Regions from separate parts of the Homo sapiens genome. Here all the other regions are linked to region 1. Evidence: promoter capture Hi-C in 16 types of primary human blood cells and fetal thymus (Javierre and others, 2016). All regions are on one chromosome and are shown on one strand. The core of a region is centred on a gene start or on the middle of the fragment in contact, and the rest is flanking DNA. Distances in the headings are between cores, read along the strand shown.

Region 1 (4,616 bases), core at 334-2,833:
GGTTTGGGATGTAAGTGGAGAGGGAGAGGTTAGAAAGAGGCATCATTGGATAAGCAAAGAATGCTACCCTGGGAAAAGGAGGCAGAAAAGACGTAGGGAAGTATGTTCCCCTTAATCCCTTCCCCGTGCCGCCCGTAGATCCCTGGATCTTCTTGTCACGGAGACAGGCTGCAGCCACACACGCGACCCCGGGCCGGAAACATGCACACGCGCGCGCACACACGCACACACACGCCCCGCTGCGAGTTGCACGCTGCAGACTTCTGCCTGACTTCCCGGCCAAAAACACCGCACCTCTGGGGCCAGACCACGAATTCCTGTGGCCTAGAACTGACACCACTCCCCCTACCCCCGCAATACACACATTCAGACCCTACACTGCACCCTGAGCGTGCCGGGAACCACTGAACGGAAGCCCGAGCAGCTCCCCCCGTAAACGACTACCTTCCCCACTGCCTAATGTCTATTTAAATCTCCTAAAGCTCGCCTACAGCGAGCCGAGGTGCGTCCAAGCCGGGTAGTAGACGGAGGAGGAGCCAGGGGTGAAAGTGAACCTCAGATAACAGTACTAAATCACTATTCAAGGGGCGGCACGGGGAAGCCTCCAACCCTCTCCTGAACCTTTCAGGCCCTACCAGCAGCCCAGTTCCTCCGCCCGATACTGCACAGCTCCCCCCCTCTTCACCCAAATCCCTCAGCGATTTTCCAGTCGGCCCTCCAGGCCACTTTCTACATCCATCCTTTCCCCAGCCAGTTCCCAACATGTGGCCTCGGGTACTCTAGCGGGAGACAGATTCCAGGCTGACTCCATCATGATGTGCCCCCTAGCCTTTTACTGATTCCCCAAATTATCCGAATCCACTCGCCCCTCCGGAGCCCACTGTCCCTTCCACCGGCGTCCTTTGCTCTCGTCCAAATCCGCTTTCCACGCGCCCCACTTTCCACCCATCCTCCTGCCGTTCTGTTCAAGACACGCTTGCCCTCCACTCTGCGCCCCCAACACTGCTCTCACGCTGCTCCCACTCTATCCCCCGGCGACACCCCCACTTTCCTTCTGCGGCTGTCCCTGGCCGGGCTCCCGCGCCCCAAACCCAGCCTCCCCGCCCGGTCTCCTCCCTCGCCGCCCGGTCTCCTCCCTCGCCGCGCGGTCTTTCCTTCTTCCCAAGTCCGCCCTCTGGGCCCCCGCTGGAGCTAGTTCTGCCCTCCTGCTCTGCCCGTCGTCCCCGCTCGAGCATCCCAATGGCCACCCGCTTTCAAATTGGCTAAGTGGCTCGGAGAGGCGCCAGGCACAGGGGGCAGAGGCCAGCCGGCTCTCCCGGGCGCCAGCCGCGCCTCTCGCTATCCCTCCTGGACTCCCCCGGGCGCCAAGCCCTCGCCCTAACGCCCAGCAGCCTCACAAACTTACTTGCGGGTCGCCAGGAGGGGGCTGCGGTGAGCGGCGGCGGGCCCCGCGGCGGCGAGTGCGCCCCTCTCGGCGGGGCTGGGCGGCGCGGCGCCGGCGCTGAGCTCCTGTGGCCGCGAGGTGAATGGGCTCAGCCTGACGCAGCCCAGCTCTAGCCCCGCTGCTGCCGGCGCCGCTGAGCGCTTGCAGACATGCTCAGTTTCCGGACCTGCCCGCGTGGAAGCTACCAAGAGCCGGCAGCGGCGGGGGAGACTGAGAGGAGCCGTGGGGCGCCGCGAGCCGGAGGCTACCACGCCGGGGGCGGGGGGAGGCACGCACCGCTAAAAATAGCTCCTGCGGAAGCCACGCTGGCTTAGCGCGCACCCCTCCCCGCGCGCGGCCCCTCTGGCTGGGGTTCGGGTTTCTGCTCTGGCTACCGCGGTGGGGACCCCAGCTCGCCGAGTCCTGCCAGGCGTCTGCCTGCACTAGGATCCCCATCCCGGTGGAGACGGCGCCTCCAGTTCAGGCGCCCACTCGAATAGCCTGGACTAAGCCAGAGCTGCCCCGATTTCGGGGTCCCGCCTGTCGGGCAGCTCTAATACTAGGCTCTCCCTAGAGAAGCAGAGGAAAGTTTTGTTAAAGCGATAAAAAAGCTTCTGCAAGGAAAGCTGCAAGGAAATTTGTTCAGATTTACGGAGGAAAAAAATGTTCTTCAGATGCTTTGGTTGCTGGGAAAAACAAGGAGGAAAGGAAGGCGAAGTCTGACAGCCTAGAAAGGGACCCAAGGCAGCTTGGAGCGGGCTGAAGGGGGTTCTGCAAAGAGCTTCTAAAATTCAGAATTCTTTGCAAGGCGTTTGTGACTCCTCATTCCGCAGTGTTTTGCATAATTCGTTGACACCCCACCCTGACCTTGGAGATTTTCTTGTTCCTGTCACCTGAACTGTAATTTACTTTCTCCGCATGCTGCCTTCACTCCTTCCCCCTCCAACCCGGTTTTAAATTGCAAAACGAAAAGGGCGCAAACTCTGGATGGGTAGATTCCCAGACCTGAACTGGAACCTGGCTGTTCTGTAACCCTGAGGAAAGGAGCTGGTCCTGTTGCCGAGTTCGGGATGTATCCCAGATCTCCTGTGCATCCAGCAAACACTTCAAGCGTAGGAGCCTTTCAGCCACCTCACCTGCAAATTAGCTATTTCCCGCTATTAGTGTTCACTCTATTCTACCTTAATTTCTGATCATTTATTATTATTTTTTAATTCTGTTCTTTAAAGTAAGAGGTACAGATATTTCCTGGGTCAAATTTCCGTCTTGTTTCACTCACCTCTCACAGCCACCCAATGAGAGAATCATTATTATTCCCATTTGACAGACAGGGATGTTGAAATTTAGCGACAGGAGCTCATCGCTTGTCTGGAATAATAGAGTGTTGAACCTAGGGTCGGCCAGACTAGAAACTTTCATGGTTTCCGCATAACCTATTTCCCCGAGTCAATAGCTTTACCTGAGATAAGGGATCAAGAAAATTAGATACTATTCTGAGTGGCGTGGCGTGTCAACAGTAAGCCGATTGATAAGCCGATTGCGGGTTTTGTTCTCCATTATTTTTACCTAATTTCTTTACGAGCATTCGCAGCTTAAATTTTCTGTTATGTTGAAACTGATAGCGTTTAATTTTTATTCTATCAGAAAGATTTTACTGAGAATCTTCTACAAGCAATGTATAGACTAGGTATGTATTTTATAATTATCTCAGTTCAGACTCTGTGATAAAGCTACTTTGTTTTCCCAGTATTATAAATTAGTTAGACTTTGCTAACCCTACTAAGTAATGTACATGTGATTTTTTCATAGAACTGTAGTGGAATCTGTCTATTTGGGTCAAGATGTCCTCCCTCCTAAGATATTTGCGCCCTTCCATCCCCACTTGCAATTTAGTGCCATGTGCACCCCAAAATAAGTAATCAATTAAGGTTTGATCTTTTACTTTTTTACTGAAGCTGCAAATATTATCTGCAGGACCAGGGCCACTTTATAATGACAACATCATGTTTCTAATTTTCCATAGGTGATTCATTGGGAGATCAAAATGTGAATTTCCTTAGACTATCAACACAAATCATTCCTTTCTATCAGTGGTGAAGGAAGGTGAAAAATAAACTTTACTTTCATCCTGGTTGCTTTCATTCTTCCTCTTTCAGTAATTATTCTTAAGGTGGTATGGCACTCTGAACATCTTCATGCTACAGCATGCACACTACCCATAATCATGAAACAGGGAAAATCTTGATTTCAAAGTCTCTTTGGTGTCCTATGGAAAAGTGTAGCTCAAAAACGTACTGCATTGAGGACTCGAAGTAACAAGTGACAGGGATGCAATTCTAACTTAGGCAGAGAAAATGCATTGACCCGTGTAACTCAGAAGTACTAGAAATAGCAGGGCTTGTCCTGGGCTTAACAACATTAGGAAGAATATGATTTTCTCTTTCTCTAACTTGCTTTCGGCATTGCTTCCTGTGTTGGTTTCATTCCCCTCACATTATGTCCATAGTGCCAGCCCTACACAGTTGACAAATTTTGTAACCTTACAAAGAAATCAAGTCTCTTGTTCTGTTGAGCAGATCAATCTTTGAAGGTGTACTCTTATTGGCTGTCCTGGCTCACACAATCAACCACCTGCATCCTCTTGGGGATGAAAGATTCTCAAAAGGGAAAAAAGTATTTGGTTAGCAAAAGAAGGAATAGGGGATGTTTGCAAGATGGAAATAATGGATAACCAGTAAACTCATAGACTGGCCTGTTTCCCCATGGACAAAAAAAGGACAGCAAGTGTGTTGGGAGGTCCGTTGGTTTCAGTTATTCAGAAATGAGCAAGATAATAATAATGCTTTGAAGTGAACTTTTCCCATCTCTTTTTAGGCTCAGTTGCTTTGATTTGCCTGCCTAAGGGTAACAGAGAGTCCCCTCTTTGTTGCCTTTTCATCTTTATTTCAGGGCCCTGGTTATTTCCAAGGTGGTGCCACTCATTAAAGACAGCTAATGAGCCACCCAGCCAACTGACGCTTTCAGTCCCCAATCTGTCTCTGCAGGAAAAGGATGTTTTCCATATTATTAAAGCCCATTTTTTTTGTTTTGATCTAATGTACTTGATCATTATGTAAACCATTTGATAATAAAAAGTGGGGGTTTTCCCATTGTGCCTCAAAACATGAACAGATGGGGGAAATGCTGCTGTCCT
Region 2 (4,178 bases), core at 876-3,375, 3.1 Mb before region 1:
CAAGTCACTTAATTCTTAAAGGCCTCAGTTTTCTCACTGGTAAAACAAGGGCGCTAGGGTATCCCTCCCAGTTCAGACATTCTTAGGGAAAATAGAACAGGGCGGAGACAGCGGGAGAGGCGGGAGAGGAGGAGCCAGAAAACAAAGCGAGGACTGGTTTCAGGCCAACTCCGGTAGCACGCCCTGTCGGAGAGCCCTACAGGCCCGCGAGCGCGGGTCGGGGACGCTAACGAAAGACAGTACATCGAAAGGAGCCTGGGCTGGGCCCGGGTCCCGGCCCTGAGGACCACGGGCATAGCTCACCACCATCACCGCGGGCGAGGGCCGTCCCTTCCCAGCGACGAAATGACCCTTGCGCTGAGGACCGTTACCTACCACACTCTTCGGCTGCCCGGACTTAGACCCTCAGTAGCTCGGGCACCTAAGCACACAGAAAGCTAGAACACGCATTTCCGGGGCGGGGTCTCGCCACCCTGCCTATAATGTGAGAATTTAACCAGCGCGGGCCGCCTCCTGGTTGCTAGGGCCTCTGGGTAACAGAGTTCAGACCTTGCCGTCGCGCGCGCGTTAAGTACCAGGAGAACTACATAGCCCAGCATGCAACAGTCTCAACTTTTTCACGGACACTACATTTCCCAGAAGGCAGTTCGCACCGCAGTGTTTTCTGGGATGGGAACCACGCCGCTTCCCAGTCTCTGTGCGAGGCGTGAAGCGCGGACCTTTCAACAAGGGCTTTATTAATTCTCACGCTGCGGCCCTGGAAAGCGATGGAGGTGGCGGCTAATTGCTCCCTACGGGTGAAGAGACCTCTGTTGGATCCCCGCTTCGAGGGTTACAAGCTCTCTCTTGAGCCGCTGCCTTGTTACCAGCTGGAGCTTGACGCAGGTGGGAAGCGGCGGCGCCCTTCGTACTCCGTTCCTTTCCCCTTTCGGCTGCCTCCGGCCTGACCCTTCCCGCAATTTCTTTCTTTCTGACTGGCAAGCGAAGCCACCGTGGCGGCTTGCGTGGACTCACGGAGGCCGCTGCTTCTGGGGAATGATGCCCATCCCAGAACCCGGTGGGAGCCGCCTTCGCGCGCTCTTCGGTAACGGGACCCTGGGCCCCCTCCGTCAGCAGCCCAGCCTCTGAGGTCTGAGGTCTGAGGGCTGGCGTGCGGGTAGTGCCTGGGGCTCTGGCTGCTGTGTGTCCACAGCCTGGCTTCTGTTTCGGGGGACGCTGAGAACATTCCTTCCTCCTGGAGCATCGCTTGTGAACGTGTGCGTTGAGAAACCACACCTCCTTGGAGGACCCCCAGTTCCTGTTTCCTCTGACCGAGAGCCGTTTCTTAGAAGAGAAACTACATTCCAGTCATAGCATTTTTAATTACTCAGTTCCTGGCACATTAAGAACTCTGGTAGAGAACATCTCTAGAAGATAGTGAGGAAAAGTGGATTTACTCCCACACTGCTACTCCTTGCTTTATCTGTAGCTGGTAGAATATCCTTACTCTTGTTTTTACAACTTAACGGCATTTTCGTTATGATAGAGCCCAGAGATCTGCATTTTAAAATTCACACCCCTGCTGATTCTGATGCATGTTTTCAGAGATCACACTTTGAGAAATAGTGATCTACAGTTAATTATAATAACAGACATTAAAGTATAAAATAAGTTTATGCTAATTGATTTATTAAATTCAGAAATATTTACCGAGTACCTGTTTTGTGTTACGTCCTGATAATATCAAAATGAACAAGACACCTTCCGTAACAAAAGAGGACTATTAGCTAGTTAGGAAGAAAATTGTAAACAGATAATTGTAAAACAATATGGGAAGGCAGTGATAGGGATATGTACAAAATACAATGGTAGTACTTGAATATCTTTCCTAAACTAGTCTGGGGATCTGGGAAGGCGTCTTGGAGGAGTTAATATCTAAGTTGAGCTTTGAAGGGTAGGTTAAGAGTTGACTAGGATGAGAGAGGATAAGCTTGATTTTTCTTTTTATTTTTTTCCTTTTCCTCTTTGCCACCGTGTTTCTTCCAGTCACCCCATGTCAGTAGATGGTATCACCATGTTTAGTTAGTGCATTAGAAAGTGAAGCCAAAATTCAGTGTCTCAAAACAAGAAGCAGTTATTATTGCTCACAAGTCTACGGGTCAGCTGAGTGGTTCTTCTAGTCCTAGTTGGGCTCATTGATGCATCCTTGTTCAGTAATGGATCTGCTGGGAAGCTCTGCTCATTTGGCTGGACTTCCTCATATGTTTGGAGGGTGGGGGTAGGGTCTCAGACTATAAGCTTGTTTAAGATTCTTTCACATGGTCTCCTCTTGACTTTTCTCCGTGTGGTCTCTTATCCTTTAGCCGACTAGACTAGCCCAGGTTGGTACCAAGAGACACTTGTGCCAGAGTCATTTGGGGTTTATTTCTTTTAGCCACTGTCTGCTTGGTAGCAAGTCCGGTCAGCTCCACATTTTGATATCTCTAGGCCTCCACCCTAATCCAAATCAGAGTTATCTCTTACCTGAACTCTAGTAGCCTCCTGACTAGCCTTCCTGCCTTCACTTTTGGGCTTCGTCATTGCATTCTCCATAAGACGTACTTATCGGCCTTTTAAATTCTATCTTGATTTGTTGTCTGTTTCCTCCACTAGACTATGAGTTCCTTGAAAACAGTGATGTTTTTCTTTTGTTCACTACCCTATATCTAGTGCTTGGCACATAGGATGTATTCAATAAAATGAGTATATGAAGAAGAGAAGAAATTGTTGAGGTCATTCCATTCATGGGAAAGCATGAGGAAAGGGAAATAATTAGTAGGTTGTATGCTGGACATCCTTGCACTCTTATATTGCTGGAGCAAAACGTCTGGGAAAGTGAGAGGAAATAAATCAGTGAGGGCCTTGTTTGCCTTTTGGATTTCTTGGATTTCCGGTCATTCAGTGTTTCCCTGACATTTTTGTATTGAGCCATTACAATATAAAATAAAACTCAGCTGCTGTAGTTCTGCCAACTTTTCTGTTTACTAGGTGGAGATGTTTCTTAAAAACTATCATTTACTCATCTATCTTTTCATAAACAAAAGGATATTTTAACACCAAAAAAGCAGGAAGCAAAATCTCACAATAAACAATCCATTGAATACTTTAACTTTAGAAAAAATTCACAAAGTTGTCCTTGTTCCGTACTCATTTCATCAGCGTTAATCTTAGATTCTGTGTTTGGGATGTACAGCTGCAGGATATCAGGTGCCATTTGAAGATTTTTTTTTTTTTTTTTTTTTTTGAGTCTGAGTCTTGCTCTATTGCGGAGGCTGGACTGTAGTAGTGTGATCTCGTCTCATTGCAACCTCTGCCTTCCGGGTTCAGGCGATTCTCCTGCCTCAGCCTCCCGAGTAGTTGGGATTACAGGCGCCCGCCACCATGCCCAGCTAATTTTTGTTTGTTTCTTTTTGTTTTTGTTTTGTTTTTTGAGACGGAGTCTCTGTCGTTGAGGCTGGAGTGCAGTGGCGCGATCTCAGCTCACTGCAACTTCCGCCTCCCGGGTTCAAGCAGTTCTCTGCCCCAGCCTCTGGAGTAGCTGGGATTACAAGTGCCCGCCACCAAGCCCAGCTAATTTTTGTATTAGAGACGGAGTTTTACTATCTTGGCCAAGCTGGTCTTGAACTCCTGACCTCGCGATCCACCTGCCTCGGCCTCCCAAAGTGCTGGGATTAACAGGCCTGAGCCACTGCTCCGACCGATTTTTTTTTTTCTTTGAAGTTCCGGGGTACATGTGCAGGATGTGCAGGTTTGGTACATAGGTAAACGTGTGCCATGGTGGTTTGCTGCACCCGTCAACCCATCACCTAGGTATTAAGCCCAGCATGCATTAGCAATTTTTCCTAATGCTCTCCCTCCCCCTACCCCATTCTCTGACAGACCACAGTGTGTGTTGTTCCCCTCCCTGTGTCCATGTGATCTCATTATTCAGCTCCCACTTACAAGTGAGAACATGTGGTGTTTTGTGTTCTGTTCCTTCGTTGGTTTGTTGAGGACAGTGGCTTCCAGCTCCTTCCATGTCCCTTTGAAGGATATGATTGTGTTCCTTTTTATGGCTGCATAGTATTCCATGGCGTATGTGTACCACATTTTAAGTACAAGGGACGTGAACAGATACGGGAGTTGAAAAGCTTACCTCAGACTCTGTGGAGGTTGAGTTT
Region 3 (4,104 bases), core at 1,152-3,651, 3.3 Mb before region 1:
GGCGCGCGCTCCGTAGCAGCCTGCGTTGCCTCTGCGCAGCTGCCATGGCCGCCCCTTCATCGGGAAACCCGCCCCCAGCCCCTCCTCTAGCCCCGCCCCCAGCCCTCCTTGAAGGCGGCTCTCGGCTGTCTCCAGGCCCTCGCTTCTGCACTCCGCCTCAGGTCCTGGCTGGCCCAATAGGTGAGAGGCTACGGGTCTGACGTCGAGACTGGGAGCCAATGAGCCCTGGGAGCGGGGCAAGCGGCGACAGGCACGCCAGGTTCGGTGAGGGGTAGCTTTTTGGGACTATTGCGAGCTGCTTTGACTGTTTATTCTCGGAGCGCCTGCTTCTGCCAGATGTCCCTACTTTCCTTCTATGCAGAGTGCCTCCCCTCCAGCAAAGTCCCTTTCTGTTCAACCCACAGAACCCCTGTGTCAGATGCGACCAAGGAAAATACACTGCAACAAATGAGGGATCTCCCTCTGTCTCAGGAAGATTTGGATGTGGCTAGACAGACCCCCTCCCCTCAGTCATTCCGCCACCTCAAAGATGTGGAATGCTGAGTTTAATTCAAGACGTAGCCTCCTCCCAGTAATTTTTAATTGAATTGTGTTGAACTAGAAATGAAGAAGTGGCACTTCACCGTGTCCATGCATTTGTTCCTCACATGCACCCTGGACTTGCCCTTCTTTCAACCTGAGATGTTCTTTCCTTCAGTGCTTCTCTCTTTGCAGCCTGATTCTTCTTTTTATCTTGTATGCTATGAAAGGGGTTGTTATGTGCAGGGGACCCTCAGAATACTATGCTCCACAGTTGCAAAGTGACTGGTGAGGGAGAAGTGAATAGGGTCTAAGGCCAAAATCAGTTTATGCAAATTGTTCTCAACAAGCCTTTTTCTTTATATGCCTTTAATTTTTTTTTTTATTACAGCTGCCTTTGTTCTCCCACCCTGACCCAGCAACCACCTACCCACTTAACTTTGTGATAATCTACCACAACCGTCCTCTTTCCAATTTGCACCACGTTTTTTATTAATAATTTAATTTCCAAGACGGGAAAGATGTGTTTATGGCTCGTGCTCTGGAATGGTTCTGTGTAAAGTTGGGTAAAATTATTTAATCTGTTCACCTCAATTTCCTCATCAGTAAAATGGCCATAATAGTGCCTACTTCATGCAGTAGTAATGCTTGCAAAGCTCTCTTAGCACAGAGCCTGGCACATAGCAAACATTCATAGATAACAGTTGTTGCTGCAGCTACTACTACTACTGCATTACTATTGCATTACTACAGTATCATTTCCGGTAATTGCATTTCCCAAAGGCCATGCAACCCCTTTCAGTCCCTTAAACACCTGCTCTAACTTTAATCTCTAGAATTCTAATGCCTAAATTTCAATATAAAATTTCTAAATTTTTTTTGGATTTAAAAAATCGAGTTATCTAGCTGGGCACGGTAACTCATGCCTGTAATCTCAGCACTTTGGGAGGCCGAGGCAGGAGGAACGCTTGAGCCCAGGAATTTAAGACCAGCCCAGGCAACGGGCGAAACTCCGTTTCTACAAATAATTTAAAAATTAGCCAGGTTTGGTGGCGCATGCCTGTAGTCCCAGCTACTCAGAAGGCTGAGGTGGGAAGAATCACCTGAGCCTGGGAGGTCGAGACTACAGTGAGCCATGATTGGGCCCTGCACTCCAGCCTGGGAGACAGAGCAGGACCCTGACTCAAAAAAAAAAAAAAAAAAAATCCAAAATAACCTATATTCGGATATAAACGTGTTTAAATTTTTTTTCTTAAAGAGTTGATTGCTTTAGACAATTTATTATGCCCAAGGATATTTTCTTCTTTTTCCTGATTCTTCAGTTTTCTTTATTAAATTTGCCATTTCCAAATGAAACAAAACGAAATGTATATACTTTTCCAGAAACAGCTAGTTACTGAGTACTTGTTTCCCAACACAATAGCAAAACAGAAAACAAAGCTCGCTAAAGACTGCAAATTTAAAATTTACTTTAGTAATACCTATAAAATAATATTTTAAAATCATCTTTACTTGTTAAATAGTAAGCCCATAATTGGGATCACAAGTCAATAATTTGGGATTGGGTTTAGGGACCACCTCTTGGGAACAGGGAACTTTAAGTCCTGTCCTCTCCCCAAAGCTTGTGTGGGACGGGGGTAGGAAACCACCAGATGTCAAATGGGAGGAACATAAGGGATAGAACCTGGCATATGAATTTCTTTTACTCAATGGAATATAGTAAATTCTGTCTGCTCTGTGTCCAAACCATTTTGCTCACTTTAACGCTTCTGATCAGCCTCTGCCCAATTACCAGCTTGATTTATTCACACTATCAACCTCCAGCCCACCACTTACTCTCCCCTTTCAAAGCCTACATAGGCTTTGTTCTGACTTCTCCAGCTGGGGCTAACTCTGGCCTTGTCACCTGACCTGGCCCAGGAGGTAGGAGCAGACTGCAAACACAGCCCTCTGCTTCCAGATCTTTCCCAACCCAGTTCCCTGGCTTTTCATCAAAGGGTGGGTTTTTTTTCCCTCAAACACAATTTTAGACCTGCTGTTCTGACTTGGACTTTAATGGCTTTTTATTAATGAGCAGCTGTTCACAGTTGAATACAAGATCATAAAGTCACATTCATTTCTTGATCAAGTAAAACAAAGCTTTGCCGCACATAGAGTGACATCTTTGAGCAGATACATTTGAAAGCATAGGATTTTCTGATGAGAATTTTAATGAATTGTTTTATTAATCTTCCTACTGGAGAATTTTACTTGCTTTCAAAATAATAAACATTAATATTCTGGAAAATTATAACTTCTTTTTTAATACTCAAAATCACCATATACTAGTTAGGGTCAATTGCCTAATAGAGAAATCAAACAGTCTGAAGCAGATTTTTTATTTCTTTTCTATTAAATGAAAATTAACTTTCTATGAAGCATTTAAATAAATTTTTCCTCATAATTGTTATTACAATTAGCAGTAACTTTTATTGCTAAATACAGGAAGATTCAAAATTTAGTAACAATTTAGAGTTAACCAGTTTTCTTCAGAAGGGGCCTGGTTAGAAATCAAGAAAAATAATACATATATTTTAGTAGAAATAAATTCAAATGAAAAGATGAGGTGAATTCTCATTTTGTGTTCAGTGGTGAGGTTCAGCCACATCATACTTCTGGCTAATGTCCACATCGTTATTAGATTTATGACAGAGTTCAGCTATATTATGAATTAAGTAGAGTTGATGGGAACAGCATCTGGCAGTCTAAGACCTTTTGTTATTTCTAACAGTAAATGTATTGAAATTCATACAACCAACATAAAACAGTAGTTTGTAAATCTATCTTGTACATGGATTGAGAAAGTAGAAATAAAACAACATGAAACAATGTGAGACTCATTCATTGAGCTACAGCATGATGGACATCGTGACTTTGACCTTGAACAACTTTAAGCCTCAGTTTTCTCATCTGCAAAATTAGGTTAGTAATTCCTGCTTTACGGATTTATTTTGCAAATTAAATATCATACCATATGTGGAAATGTGTTGGAAACACAGCAATAAAATCGGTGAAACCTTTGAAGCAGGCAGATTTGTTATCTTCAAGATCAGTACAATCCCCTTTAGCTCACAACATGGAATAGTGCTTCCAAGAAATAGAGGTGAATTTTATGTCATCAGCAACCAGAAGTAGACATGTCTACTAGCAATATATTAACAAAGGGAAACAGGGAGGGACAGCCAGAAGTCAACCCTCCATACCCCCGCTTCTACCTTCTTTGTTCCCTTCTTTGTTCCCTTTGTTTTAAAGGCATAGGATGAAAGAGCAGCTGTCAGAACTATGACACTTACAATCCTTCCCCTCTCTCTCCAGGCTTTTATGTACTACTCATGGGATATTTATTTCATACCAAGATCTGTTGCCAAGTTTTGTCTATTCTTTCTTCTCAGTGTCCATCATTTCAGCACATCTGGATATCAAAATGATCTGCTAACTTAGTCTTTTGTATTTTACTATTTTCCTTCCTCTAAGTCAGTTTGTTACTTTGCTGTCTGATTAATATAAATATTGTTACACCTTCTTCATAGTAACTGACCTTTTTAA

What was found. Contacts are between HindIII fragments. The CHiCAGO score rates a contact against its expected background, and 5 or more counts as called.
Region 2: a contact is called between a fragment that was not itself captured here and the fragment with the promoter of OXR1 in region 1, in 1 of 17 cell types (fetal thymus). The highest score is 7.3, in fetal thymus.
Region 3: a contact is called between a fragment that was not itself captured here and the fragment with the promoter of OXR1 in region 1, in 2 of 17 cell types (activated CD4 T cells and naive CD4 T cells). The highest score is 6.1, in activated CD4 T cells.

Annotation. Positions count from the first base shown.
Region 1 is chr8:106,267,157-106,271,772 of GRCh38, reverse strand. It overlaps OXR1 (oxidation resistance 1), which reads right to left and starts at 1,583. Exons shown (of 17, transcript NM_001198533.2): 1 at 1,406-1,583. RefSeq lists silencers at 1,229-1,588, 1,609-1,858. The HindIII fragment of the contact is 2,469 bases long and covers 1-2,036 here.
Region 2 is chr8:109,330,600-109,334,777 of GRCh38, reverse strand. It overlaps NUDCD1 (NudC domain containing 1), which reads left to right and starts at 691. Exons shown (of 10, transcript NM_032869.4): 1 at 691-885. The coding sequence starts at 768. ENY2 (ENY2 transcription and export complex 2 subunit) reads right to left here and starts at 431. Exons shown (of 5, transcript NM_020189.6): 1 at 304-431. The coding sequence starts at 309. RefSeq lists enhancers at 150-399, 1-587, 770-819, 950-999. The HindIII fragment of the contact is 308 bases long and covers 1,972-2,279 here.
Region 3 is chr8:109,535,668-109,539,771 of GRCh38, reverse strand. It overlaps PKHD1L1 (PKHD1 like 1), which reads right to left. Exons shown (of 78, transcript NM_177531.6): 78 at 2,565-4,104. It overlaps EBAG9UORF, which reads right to left and starts at 46. Exons shown (of 1, transcript NM_001436381.1): 1 at 1-46. The coding sequence starts at 46. It also overlaps a transcript of EBAG9 not described here. RefSeq lists a silencer at 1-200. The HindIII fragment of the contact is 518 bases long and covers 2,143-2,660 here.